Linked DNA regions of Homo sapiens: all the other regions are linked to region 1. The links are contacts of gene promoters, found by promoter capture Hi-C in human tissues and cell types (Jung and others, 2019). All regions are on one chromosome and are shown on one strand. The core of a region is centred on a gene start or on the middle of the fragment in contact, and the rest is flanking DNA. Distances in the headings are between cores, read along the strand shown. Region 1 holds the start of ALX1 (ALX homeobox 1). Region 2 overlaps LINC02820 (long intergenic non-protein coding RNA 2820). Region 3 overlaps LRRIQ1 (leucine rich repeats and IQ motif containing 1).

Evidence for each region. Contacts are between HindIII fragments. The study calls those that stand out against the background at their distance.
Region 2: a contact is called between a fragment that was not itself captured here and the fragment with the promoter of ALX1 in region 1, in 3 of the 25 tissues and cell types used here (H1 embryonic stem cells, mesendoderm cells and thymus).
Region 3: a fragment that was not itself captured here is called in contact with the fragment with the promoter of ALX1 in region 1 in 2 of the 25 tissues and cell types used here (mesendoderm cells and pancreas).

What each region holds. Positions count from the first base shown.
Region 1 is chr12:85,278,670-85,282,223 of GRCh38, reverse strand. It overlaps ALX1 (ALX homeobox 1), which reads right to left and starts at 2,004. Exons shown (of 4, transcript NM_006982.3): 1 at 1,737-2,004. The coding sequence starts at 1,962. RefSeq lists a silencer at 1,619-1,913. The HindIII fragment of the contact is 12,363 bases long and covers 1-3,554 here.
Region 2 is chr12:85,367,963-85,371,516 of GRCh38, reverse strand. The region is part of intron 2 of LINC02820 (long intergenic non-protein coding RNA 2820); the gene reads right to left. Among named protein-coding and RNA genes, the nearest start is that of LINC02820, 52 kb to the right of the region's middle. The HindIII fragment of the contact is 4,866 bases long and covers 1-3,554 here.
Region 3 is chr12:85,206,829-85,210,382 of GRCh38, reverse strand. The region is part of intron 24 of LRRIQ1 (leucine rich repeats and IQ motif containing 1); the gene reads right to left. Among named protein-coding and RNA genes, the nearest start is that of ALX1, 72 kb to the left of the region's middle. The HindIII fragment of the contact is 5,090 bases long and covers 1-3,554 here.

The sequences.
Region 1 (3,554 bases), core at 755-3,254:
TTTCATGCAAACGAAGATGTGATGTTAAACCAAATATAAAGAAGAGCCATGACTGATTAACAAACGGTTCTATCTCCTTGGGCAAAATTAAAGGGGGAACTGCAGCAATTAGGGATGGGGGAGGGGAAGCATCAGAGAGGCTAAGGGCATCTCAAGAGAAAGACAGGATCTCTCCTAAATTAAGCGGATGACTGCCTATGTTCATCTTCCTTAACACTTCTTTGTTATAATTCATCTTAATAGTGTGATATTTGTTTAAAAGTTGATAACGCATCAATTATGTCTCTTATTTTGGATTCTCGACTATTCAAAATAAAATATTATGATCAAGTCCATCCAGAGTCAATACAAGACATTGCAGAATCATTAAAGAAAGACCTGTCAATTCAAATAACGTTAGGCATGCACCTAAGAATTCCACAAATACAGATACCAGGTCTGAAACGCAGCCAGAAAACCAACAACTCAGTGTAAGAATAACAAAAAGTATACGCTCGAATCTTTCTAAATAAATGACTGAAACGACTTAGCTGATTATTTTCTCTATCATTTGCACCTTTATTTTTGATTTACCCTTAGTCAAAAGTTACTTGCAACGTTAAATAAAATTAGTTAAATATGAGATTAATAAAAGAAAAAAACTTGTGTTCAAAATATTTAGAAAATGAGCTTCTACAGGCCAGTGTTTTGTCAGATTTTGAATTTCTATAAAATAGGGGGCAGGGGGCTTGTTGTAAATATTTCACACTTAATTCGTTTGTTATTTTAAAGCAACCCGCCCCTTATAGCTTAACTGTGGAATATATACAATGATAAGGAGAAGTTCTCTTGGAATTGTAAACGTGCTTTAGCTGTCGCGATCTGAAATAATAGGTTAGTATTAGGTTACAAGATAGAAAAGATAGATGGTTTGTTTTGATAACATTTTGACTTGGAGATACTTGGGCATTCAAAGTTGAAGATTTCACCCAGAAGCATTCCAAAGACTCCTTAGGTGACTTTTAATGTGAAGTCATAAAAATACAAAACGTAGAATCTGGGAATGAGTGATTAGGCCGGGGATGGTTTGCCCGAAGCTATTTAGTGTGCTTTAGTGTTTAACAAACATTCAACGCGTGTTGTATTGCAAACGCAAAAAAAAGCAGAAATTACAAATTCACACACGCTAGAAATCTAGGGATCCTCAAACTTTGAAAATATATCGCCACGTCTTGGAAAATTAAAAAGATTTATCTTTACCTAAAGGAGCTCAAAGGGTTTTTTGTTTTTTGTTTTTGTTTTCCGGTTTTTTTTTCCCTACTCGTGACGACAGTGACGTACTCTAACGAGCTGTGATCGATTTCAGTTCCTACCGCCCGGACTGCAAGGCGGGCTCGCAGAGGAAGCGTTCTGTCTTGACTCAATTACGCTCTATTTAGCGCCCTATCAGTTTACTCCAGGAACCAATATTACAGAAGGACTCAGGGATCCGTAGGCGACCAGACCCTACAGCGAAAGGAGAATCGCTCAGAGGCAACCCGGTGCTGGATCTCTCCCTCCCTCCGCCCTCCGCCCCCAAAGGCTGCAGCAGCAGTAACACCGCTTCATAAAGCGAGCACCTTCCACTACCTTCCTCCACCTTCCAGGTCCCTCGCTCCCACTTTTCTCCTTTCTCCCTCCCTGCCTGATCAGACCGATCCTGCATTTTCGATTGCGGAAGGGCTGCGGCGGCTCCGGCTGGGGCGCTAGCGACTCACCGCTGCTGTCCTGACAGGGCGAGGTCCTCTCCAAGCGCACGTGATGCTCGGCGCGGGGCAGGGGTCCGAAGGCCTGCACGCATTTGCCTGCAGACGCTTTGCTGTAAAAGGACTCATTGTCCAGCGTCTCCATAACGTGCTCCAGAGGACCTCCTGCGCCCATGTAAAAGTCACTGTTTTTACTCGGAGGGCTCTTGAGGGCAAACTTCTCGCTCAGAAACTCCATAATCCTGGAAGACTGTCGCGTAGCTCCTGGGGCACAGAAACTGGAGAGCGCTGGGGGAGGGAGCCAGTGGGTGGGAGGAGGGAGGGCCAGAGAGGAGGGAAGGGAAAGCGAGCGCTGCGGCGTCGGGAACTGCCCCGCTCCGGTCCCTTTAATACGTCCCGGCTGGAAAAGGAGCACCCGAAGTTGCTTTTATATCTTGAAACTCAGCTGGCCTCCTCGGGCAGCCTCCCAGTTCTAATGAATATGAAAATAGGCGGGCGACTAACTCCACCCCAGGTCCCCCTCCGCCCCTACCCCACCCCCATTTTCCCCACTTACCCGGGCAGAGGGCGTCCAGGCCTAGGATAGACAGACAGACAGCTCCATTTCAGACAAATGCCAGGAGAGACGAGCCCCTGACACCCAGATTCATTGCCGCCGTGACAGTGGACTGGCATTTCGGAAGATCTTGGTGAGATCGCAAAGCAGTTAAACCTCCACTCCCTACTGCCTGCGCCTTCCTGAGCCACCCGTCCCCACCCCGCCCCCATGCCGGCCACTCACTACCAGAAAGATTTAGAGGCGTCTTAAGAACTTGAAAGGAAATATTGCTCTAAAAGGCTTTTATTTCATCCGTAAATCGTTTACGTGGAAGATTCACATTAATCCGAAGCCCAAGGAACCAGATGCATTGGCAACTGTTAATCGCAGCCGCCGTAGTAGAGGGGCCGCTTCGGCTTCTAACCGGGAGGAGCTCGGGGTCCGGGCCAGCTGGGAGCTTTACGAGGCCGTGGCCTTTTCTTTTTCTCTGGAATGCGGCGGAGTGTGGACGCGGTGGCGATGGGTGGGAGAGAGAAGCCGAGCAAGAGGCAATGAAGCCATTATACTAATGCCAACCAATTCCCTACACCCTCTTCGCCACCCTTCCCTTTGGTCCACGATTTTATCATTAGACCCAAATTATTTTAAGAAAACCCGTTAGGATCAGTGCCTTTGAAAGGCTTTTACTCTAATGCCAAAGTGAGGATTGTTACAAATAGGGGTTTATGAAGAAGAGGAATGTCTGCATATTTTTACAGAAATTACTTTTAATTTTAAAGAGTTGCTGTGGAGTTACTCCGAAAAGCGCTCTGGGAGTGAGTGGTGAGCGCGCGGAGCTGCGGGCACTCGCGGCGCGGCGTCCTGGGCGCGGACAGGTCCAAGGCCTCCATTTCCACCAGAGGGGATGGTAGGGCAGGCAGGACAGCACTGCTAGGTTGAAAGCCCTTCTGTGTGACTTTTGGCACGACTCTTGGCTTCCTAGGAGCCCGCGGCGCTTGGGGGAAATGCGTTCGGTGCCCTGGGCACAAAATCGCATTTGCGTCAGGCACCCTAAGCTAGCAAATTTGGTGAAAATAAGCCAGACAGGTTTTGGTCCAGGTAGGCCTCTGCTTAGACGTCCTGACACAGCCTTTGTCAACACTGGCACTCACAGCGGCCGTCGCGTTTCCCCAGACAAGTCTGGCAATTATGGTGAGGCCTCGGGCAGGCCGAGCAGCCCGGACTCTGAGGATGGTGAGGCCAAGCCCAGCTGTGGTGGGCATGCTGATGGGTTTGAGAGTTTCCACCTTCTG
Region 2 (3,554 bases), core at 729-3,228, 89 kb before region 1:
TATATTCAGTATTACTCATTAATACCTCTTAAATTGACAGTAAGATTAGAACATGTAAACACAAATTATTATGGAAGATTAGGTTTAGCAGTTGGTAGAATTATGTGTCAGGAATGATTTGGAAGAGAGCTCAAAGAATATGAAAAACTGCCTTAAGATCAATTACAATAATAACCAAGTAAGTAAAACTTACAAAGGTCAGTGCTCAGGTTTATCACAAATAAGACCTATGTTGGAATTTGAGAGTTAAAATTTCTCAGAGAACCCATAATTTTAAAATGTCAAATTGAAAATTTTTACTACAGATTAAGCTGCTCTAGCAAAGGAAATATGAATTACAATAACTTCTTAAAATTACTTTTCACCTATGTTCATTCATATAGCCAGCAATCAGTAAATATTTGTGGAATAAGTAAATAATTAGAGAAGTCTCTCCTTGCACAAACTGCTTTCCTAAACATTTTTTTGTTTCTTATTTTAGTGTTTCTTAAGGTATTGATAGTCCCTGTATGCTCTATTAACCAGCGCTGTAGATTGCAAGTTAGTAGAGAAATGTAGATTTACTTTACGTTATCTTATCCAATTGAGTTTAGAAGAAAAATTCTGGGATTTCCCTTTTCATCCAAATGTTTTCACTACTTTATCTTTCAAGAGAAAAGGAATGAGGAAAGATCAACCAAGGGGAAATGAAAAATGACAAGTGTTGAAGACACATATGTGTGATATCTGTAAATATAACCAAGTAAGCCCAGTCAGAATTAGAGGCTTTCGTGCCGACCTAGCAGGAATACTCCCTAGAATGAAGCCTCAGACTTTTCCAGATATTTCTCTGGAGACCTCAGAGTCCCTTTTTTTTTTTTTTTACATATATATATATGTCAAATATATATACATGTATATATATATATGTCAAATATATACATGTATATATGTCAAATATATATACATGTATATATGTAATATATATACACATATACATAATATATATGCATATACATAATATATATGTATATATGTAAAACGTGTGTGTATGTGTGTGTGTGTGTGTATATATATGTAAATATATATATATATGTAAATATATATATATATATATAGCATGAGAGCCTGTTAGGAGCCAGGTACTGTGAGAGAGAGAGAGAGAGATATACATATATAGTCTTTTTTTTTCTTTTTTCTGAAATCCCTACATTTACTCACTCCCACTTCCCTATTTCCAATGACCTAAGATATCAGAATTTCTATCTACTTCCCTTTTTAGTCCCCAGAAGAACCAATATTTTCCACAGGCAACCTTTAGTTAAGAAGTATCACTGGATGTGCTTAAGTTAAGAAGTTATCACTGGATGTGCTTTGGCCTTTTTAATAGAAAAGATATTTATTTACCAAATGTGCTATAAATATATCTCTATGTGAGACAAATCATATACGATAAATTATCAGCTAAAAATTCTCCTCAGAGGTAATTTGAAACCAAAGTCAAATTTGGCTGAAACACAGAAGATATAGTTCTCTTTAACCTAAAAATATGTAGTAGTTGAATTCCACTGAAGGGCTTGGCAATGCAGTAATATGTTTGTAACCAGGGCCTAACTTCTTGTTATTACCAGTGGTTTATGGTCAAAGTATTACAGTCAGCACATTGTAAAAAACTTTTGGGAGAGTGGCTTACTTAGTGCCAAACTTGAACTGAAATTTCATTTCTGGTAGCTTATCTGCACACATCTCTAAAGGCATCTTAGTTCTGGTTCTGTGATAAACAAAAACAAAGGGGGAATCAGACAAGGAAAACAATCTGTATTTGTGGTTTATTTTCAAACTGCCTTTCTTCCTCACTTGAGTGAACAAACCAACATACAATCAGAAAGAGTAGGGGCCCAGGGAAGGGAGCGAAATTTAAGATATCTTACAGTGCAGTAAACTCAAAACCGTTAACATTCACAAACCATTTTTAAAGCCTATAATTTGTGCTAGAATGATTCAGAGTGATGGGCCTTTCATCCAAACCTTGATATTATGCCAGGACTCAGCTTTTCCTTTCAGTTCCTATAGGCCTCAGGAGGCTAGCCAGCTCCACTATGGCTCCAGGTATCGTTCATTCATTTCTTTTGTAAGCATTTATAGCATGATAGCCTGTTAGGAGCCAGGCACTGTGCTATTCCCTAGGGATGCAAGGATAAATAAATCATCATTCCTGACCCCCCCAGGCACTTATTACCAGTTGAGGAGGGAAATGATAGTAAGACTCTTGGAGTGTGACAAGTGCTGTGATACAAAGAAAACCAGAGAGCTATAAGGGGTGGGGAATAAAAGGATGCAACACTTAGTCCATGGAGTCAGAGAAGGCTTCCTAGACAAAATGGGTCTTGAAGAGAAAGCAGGATTTCGCACAGTAAATATTCAATATCTAGCATCTCTTATTGTAGTTATTATTACAGCTTGATCACCTCTAATTTGAAAATCTGAAATCCTTTTTTTTTTTTTTTTTTTGAGATGGAGTCTTGCTGTATCACCTAGGCTGGAGTGCAGTGGCGCAATCTCAGCTCACTGTAACCTCCGCCTCCCAGGTTCAAGCGATTCCCAGCCTCAGCCTCCCAAGTAGCTGAGACTACAGTTGCCCACCACCATGTCCAGCTAATTTTCATATTTTTAGCAGAGACGGGGTTTCACCATATTGGTCAGGCTGGTATCAAACTTCTGACCTTGTGATCCACCCGCCTCGGCCTCCCAAAGTGCTGGCATTACAGGCGTGAGCCACAGCGCCTGGCCTGAAATCCCTTTTGAGCACTGTCATGATGCCCTAAGTGGAAAATTCCACATGTAAGTACTTAACAAAAACTTTGTTTCATGCACTAAAATATTTAAAATATTGTATTAAATTACCTTCAGGCTATTTGTATAAGGTATATATGGATCATAAATAAATTTCATGTTTATACTTGGGTCTATTCCCTAGGATATCTCTTTGCAAATATTCAAAAGTCCAAGAAAAAAAAAATCTGAAATCTGAAACACTTCTGGTCCCAAGTATTTCAGATAAGGGATATTCAACCTGTACTATGATTATTATTTATATGTCATAAAAGGGTGTTATTCATTTCTAGTCTCAACTGATAAATCACTTCATATGAGAGATGAATAGTTTACTAGGTACAAGTTTTTTTTGGAAATTAACAAATACAAAATGCAGAGCAGCAGATGATAAACCTTATAAAAATCAGGAGTTTTGTGAAGCTGAAACTGGTAGTATCACAACAAAGCAGTCTTTATTTATGTGACCTATCCCAACTGTCCTAAAAAGGTCAGTTGAATTATGATCATAACATTGTTTCAAACAAAATGCCTTTGGCTGGATCACTCTAGAGTTACTTTATCCCTGGAATGCGACTCTCATATTTCCTAAAAAGGGAAGTCCCTTCTATAAAAGTGTGTCACTCATGGATGAGAAGGAAGCCATAACTATAATTTAGACTATTAGAACAGGGGTCAGCAAACTATGACCCGTGGGGCCAAATCCAACCTGCTGCCTGTTTATATAAATAAAGCTTTATTTG
Region 3 (3,554 bases), core at 511-3,010, 72 kb after region 1:
GTGGAAACACATGTAACTAAAAATTATATTAGTTTTTCCGTAAGCATTGGCAAGAAATATGCTGTAAATGATCACAAACATATTTATTCTCCAAATGTGTGAAAAAGCTATTCTTCAGAATGTACTTACATAGGAAAACTATGGAGTTATAGAATACTGTGGTTTTTGACCAATTCATACATAATATCCTAGGACTGGAATGTTTATTGTGCTTTGTCATTTTCATAATTTAATATTTGAATAAATTTAGTAGAAATGTATAAGGTCCTCTGGGAACAAATATGAAAAACTATTTCAAAATTATTCCTTATTTTCTAAAAGTCTTCCACAAGAAAAAAAGAAATTCTGCATTATTTATTATAGCTAGTATATTAAGAACATTTTAAAATGTCATTCATTTCCATATTAAGAAATATGACATTAAGAGGAGTCTCATGGAAAAATATGGCTTCTTGATGAAGTGGAAATACCATGGGCTTTGGAGTCAGACCTAAGTTCAAATTCTCATGAGTCTTACATAAGCTCAAAATTTTAGTTTCAGTCTCCAAAAAAATGAGGGTAATTGTATTTTTTTTCATGGATGTTGTGAAGAAACAATCAGATATATAAAATCCCTAGATAATATTTTTTTTGCTCAAGAAATAGCATCTCATGCTCTTTTCTCCTGTGGCAGCTACCTCAAAATATTAAGAATAAATCTTAGGCATCAATTTCTTAGGTACAGATATTTACTAGAGCTCCTAATCAGTGTTTAACTACTAGCCTGAGGGTAGAAAAATCAACTTTAGATATTTACTGTAGCTATACTCAGATGAACTTACAAATAAAAATGCATTTTTTTAAAATAAAGAGAAGATACACAGATTGATATGGTTTGGGTGTGTCCCCACACAAATATCTTGAATTGTAGTTCCCATAATCCCCACATATGGTAGTAGAAATCTGATGGGAGGTAATTGAATCATGGGGGTGGTTACCTCCATGCTGTTCTTGTGATAGTGAGTTCTCACCAGATCTGATGGTTTTATAAGGGGCTTTTCCCCCTTTTGTTCACCACTTCTCCTCACTGCCACCATGTGAAGAGGGATGTGTTTGCTTCTCCTTCTGCCATGATTGCAAGTTTCCTGAGGCCTCCCCAGCCCTGTAGAACTGTCAGTGAATTAAACCTCTTTCCTTTATAAATTACCCAATCTTAGGTATTTCTTCATAGCAGCATGAGAACAAACTAATATAGATATATTTTCAAATGAGATTGAGAAAAGTTAAGTGACATCCAGGATGCAAGAGCTATTTAGTGGCAAATTAGGAACCTTTTTCTAAATCTTAGACTGGTCCCTTTTTCACTATGTTGCCAATATTAAGGTAACTGGTGAGTTTAAAGTTGTCTAAGTTCATAGCTGAGTGCTCTATGTGTTCAAAAGGGTCAAGAATGCTTGCTAATATATCTTTTTGAGTAACAGCACCAGAAGACAGAAAAAATTTCTTAAGTCTCTATAGAAAATTGCCAGTATTTTAGGTCATGTGAGTCCTAAGAAAATGTCAAGTTTATAACATTAGATAACAATCCCAAATAAAGTGTGTTGCCTTTGGAACTTAATATATAACTGCATAGATAATGCATAGTAACAATAGAATGGGTTCACTTTTGTTGGTCCGTAGTTCTAATTTTCTTTAATCCATCCATTGAGTTTGTAATATCAATAATAGTTTTCATTTTTAGAATCACTATTTTTTTAGTTTTCTAATTTTACTGGTCTCGTTGCTTAATTACATTATCAAATCAATTTTTATGCATTTGATTAAACTAAAGATACTTATTTCATATTCTGTATCTGATGAATCCACTATCTTAAGTATTCAAATGGGCTAATTTTGTAGTTTGTATTTCTATTTACTATCATTCTTGTGGCTTATTTCCTGAGATGTTTAGTGTTTTCTTATTTTTTTAGTTAATTTATGTTCTATATATCCGCATTAATGTGAATTTCTAGAAGTGTGAATTTAAACTGTTTCAACTCAGAAAGCTTTTTAAGTGCTTTTTGGCAGGTACCTGGAGGCACATTCCTCCTTACTCTAGATAGATAATTCTCAGCAATAACTTACTATACCTATATGTTTGTTTTCTTGTCATTTCTGAGTTTTGAGGAACTCCTTATCAACTTTCATTTCTTTTTTTTTTGACAATGGATATTACCTAACTTCAAGACCTACTATATAAAGCTACAGTAATCTAAACAGTGCATCGATTAGCCAGATTTAGTCATTTCACAATGTATATATATACCTCAAAATAGCACACTGTACACGTTAATATATGTATATATATAAAACTTTGTCAACTAAAAACATAAATTTGAAAAAAAAAGGAACATGAGAGGAAAGTTACTACTCTAAAAAGGAACCTATATTTCATATTCAATTTAAGCATTATTTAAGATAAAGAGTGTTGAAACAAAACAAAAAGACAGTATGGTATTGGTGAAAGAATATACAAATAGACCAGTGGAACATAATAGACAAGTCAGAAATAGATCCACAAAAATATAGTCAACTGATCTTTGCCAAAAGAGAAAAGGCAATACAATAGAGAAAAAAATACTTTTTTCATCAAATGATGTCGGAACAACTGGATACATGCCTCCCCACTCCCAAAAAAAGAATCTAAACCCAGATCTCACACCCTTCAAAATAGTACCTCAAAATGAATCATAGACCCAAGTGCAAAACACAAAACTATAAAACTACTAGGAGATAACACAGGACAAAATCTAGGTGTTCTTGGGTTTGGTGATAACTTTTTAGATACAACATCAAGGGCACAATCCATGAAAAAAATGATTGATAATTCAGACTTCATTAAAATTAAAAATGCTTCTGTGTGAAAGACATCAAAAGAATGGGCAGACAAGACACAGACTGGGAGAAAATATTTGCCAAAGATGCAGCTGATAAAGGACTGTTATCAAAAATACACAAAATACTCTTAAAACTCAATAATAATTTTTTTTTCAGGACACATGATGGCCAACCATATGAAAGTAGGAGGCACATCTGCCACCAAGAGACCAGGATAGTAGAAGACTGGTGCACTTCAAACACATCTTTGGAAGGAAGGCATTGAGAGTGGACGGAGGGAGGACACAGATGCTGGGCTGAAGTGGTTGGAAGCTGGGAACTCTGCACAAGGCTACTGTGTACTGGGATTTATTCCAGGCTCCCCAAGCACTCCTGGTGATAAGGTCAGTAGAGCAGGTGACAAGTGACCCACTCATGCCGTAAGACCTCTGGAATCCTGGCAGCAGGACACCCCACGGTCCTCCAGGACATGAACTGTCAGGAAGAGCTGCCTAGGGAAGTGGTAGTGGCAGGATTCTAGCCCGTTTGGAGCTCCAAGGGTTTGGTGTGGGAACATCTGCAGGGGAGCAAGGTCAGTGACACCCATCTTCCAAGGGTCTCCATGCTCCGCTAGGAGATGGTAGTCTTAGGGGAACTGTAAGACCTGAACAGAGCAGAGCAATCTTGCCTGTGAGATGAGGCCCGTTTGACCTGAGTTC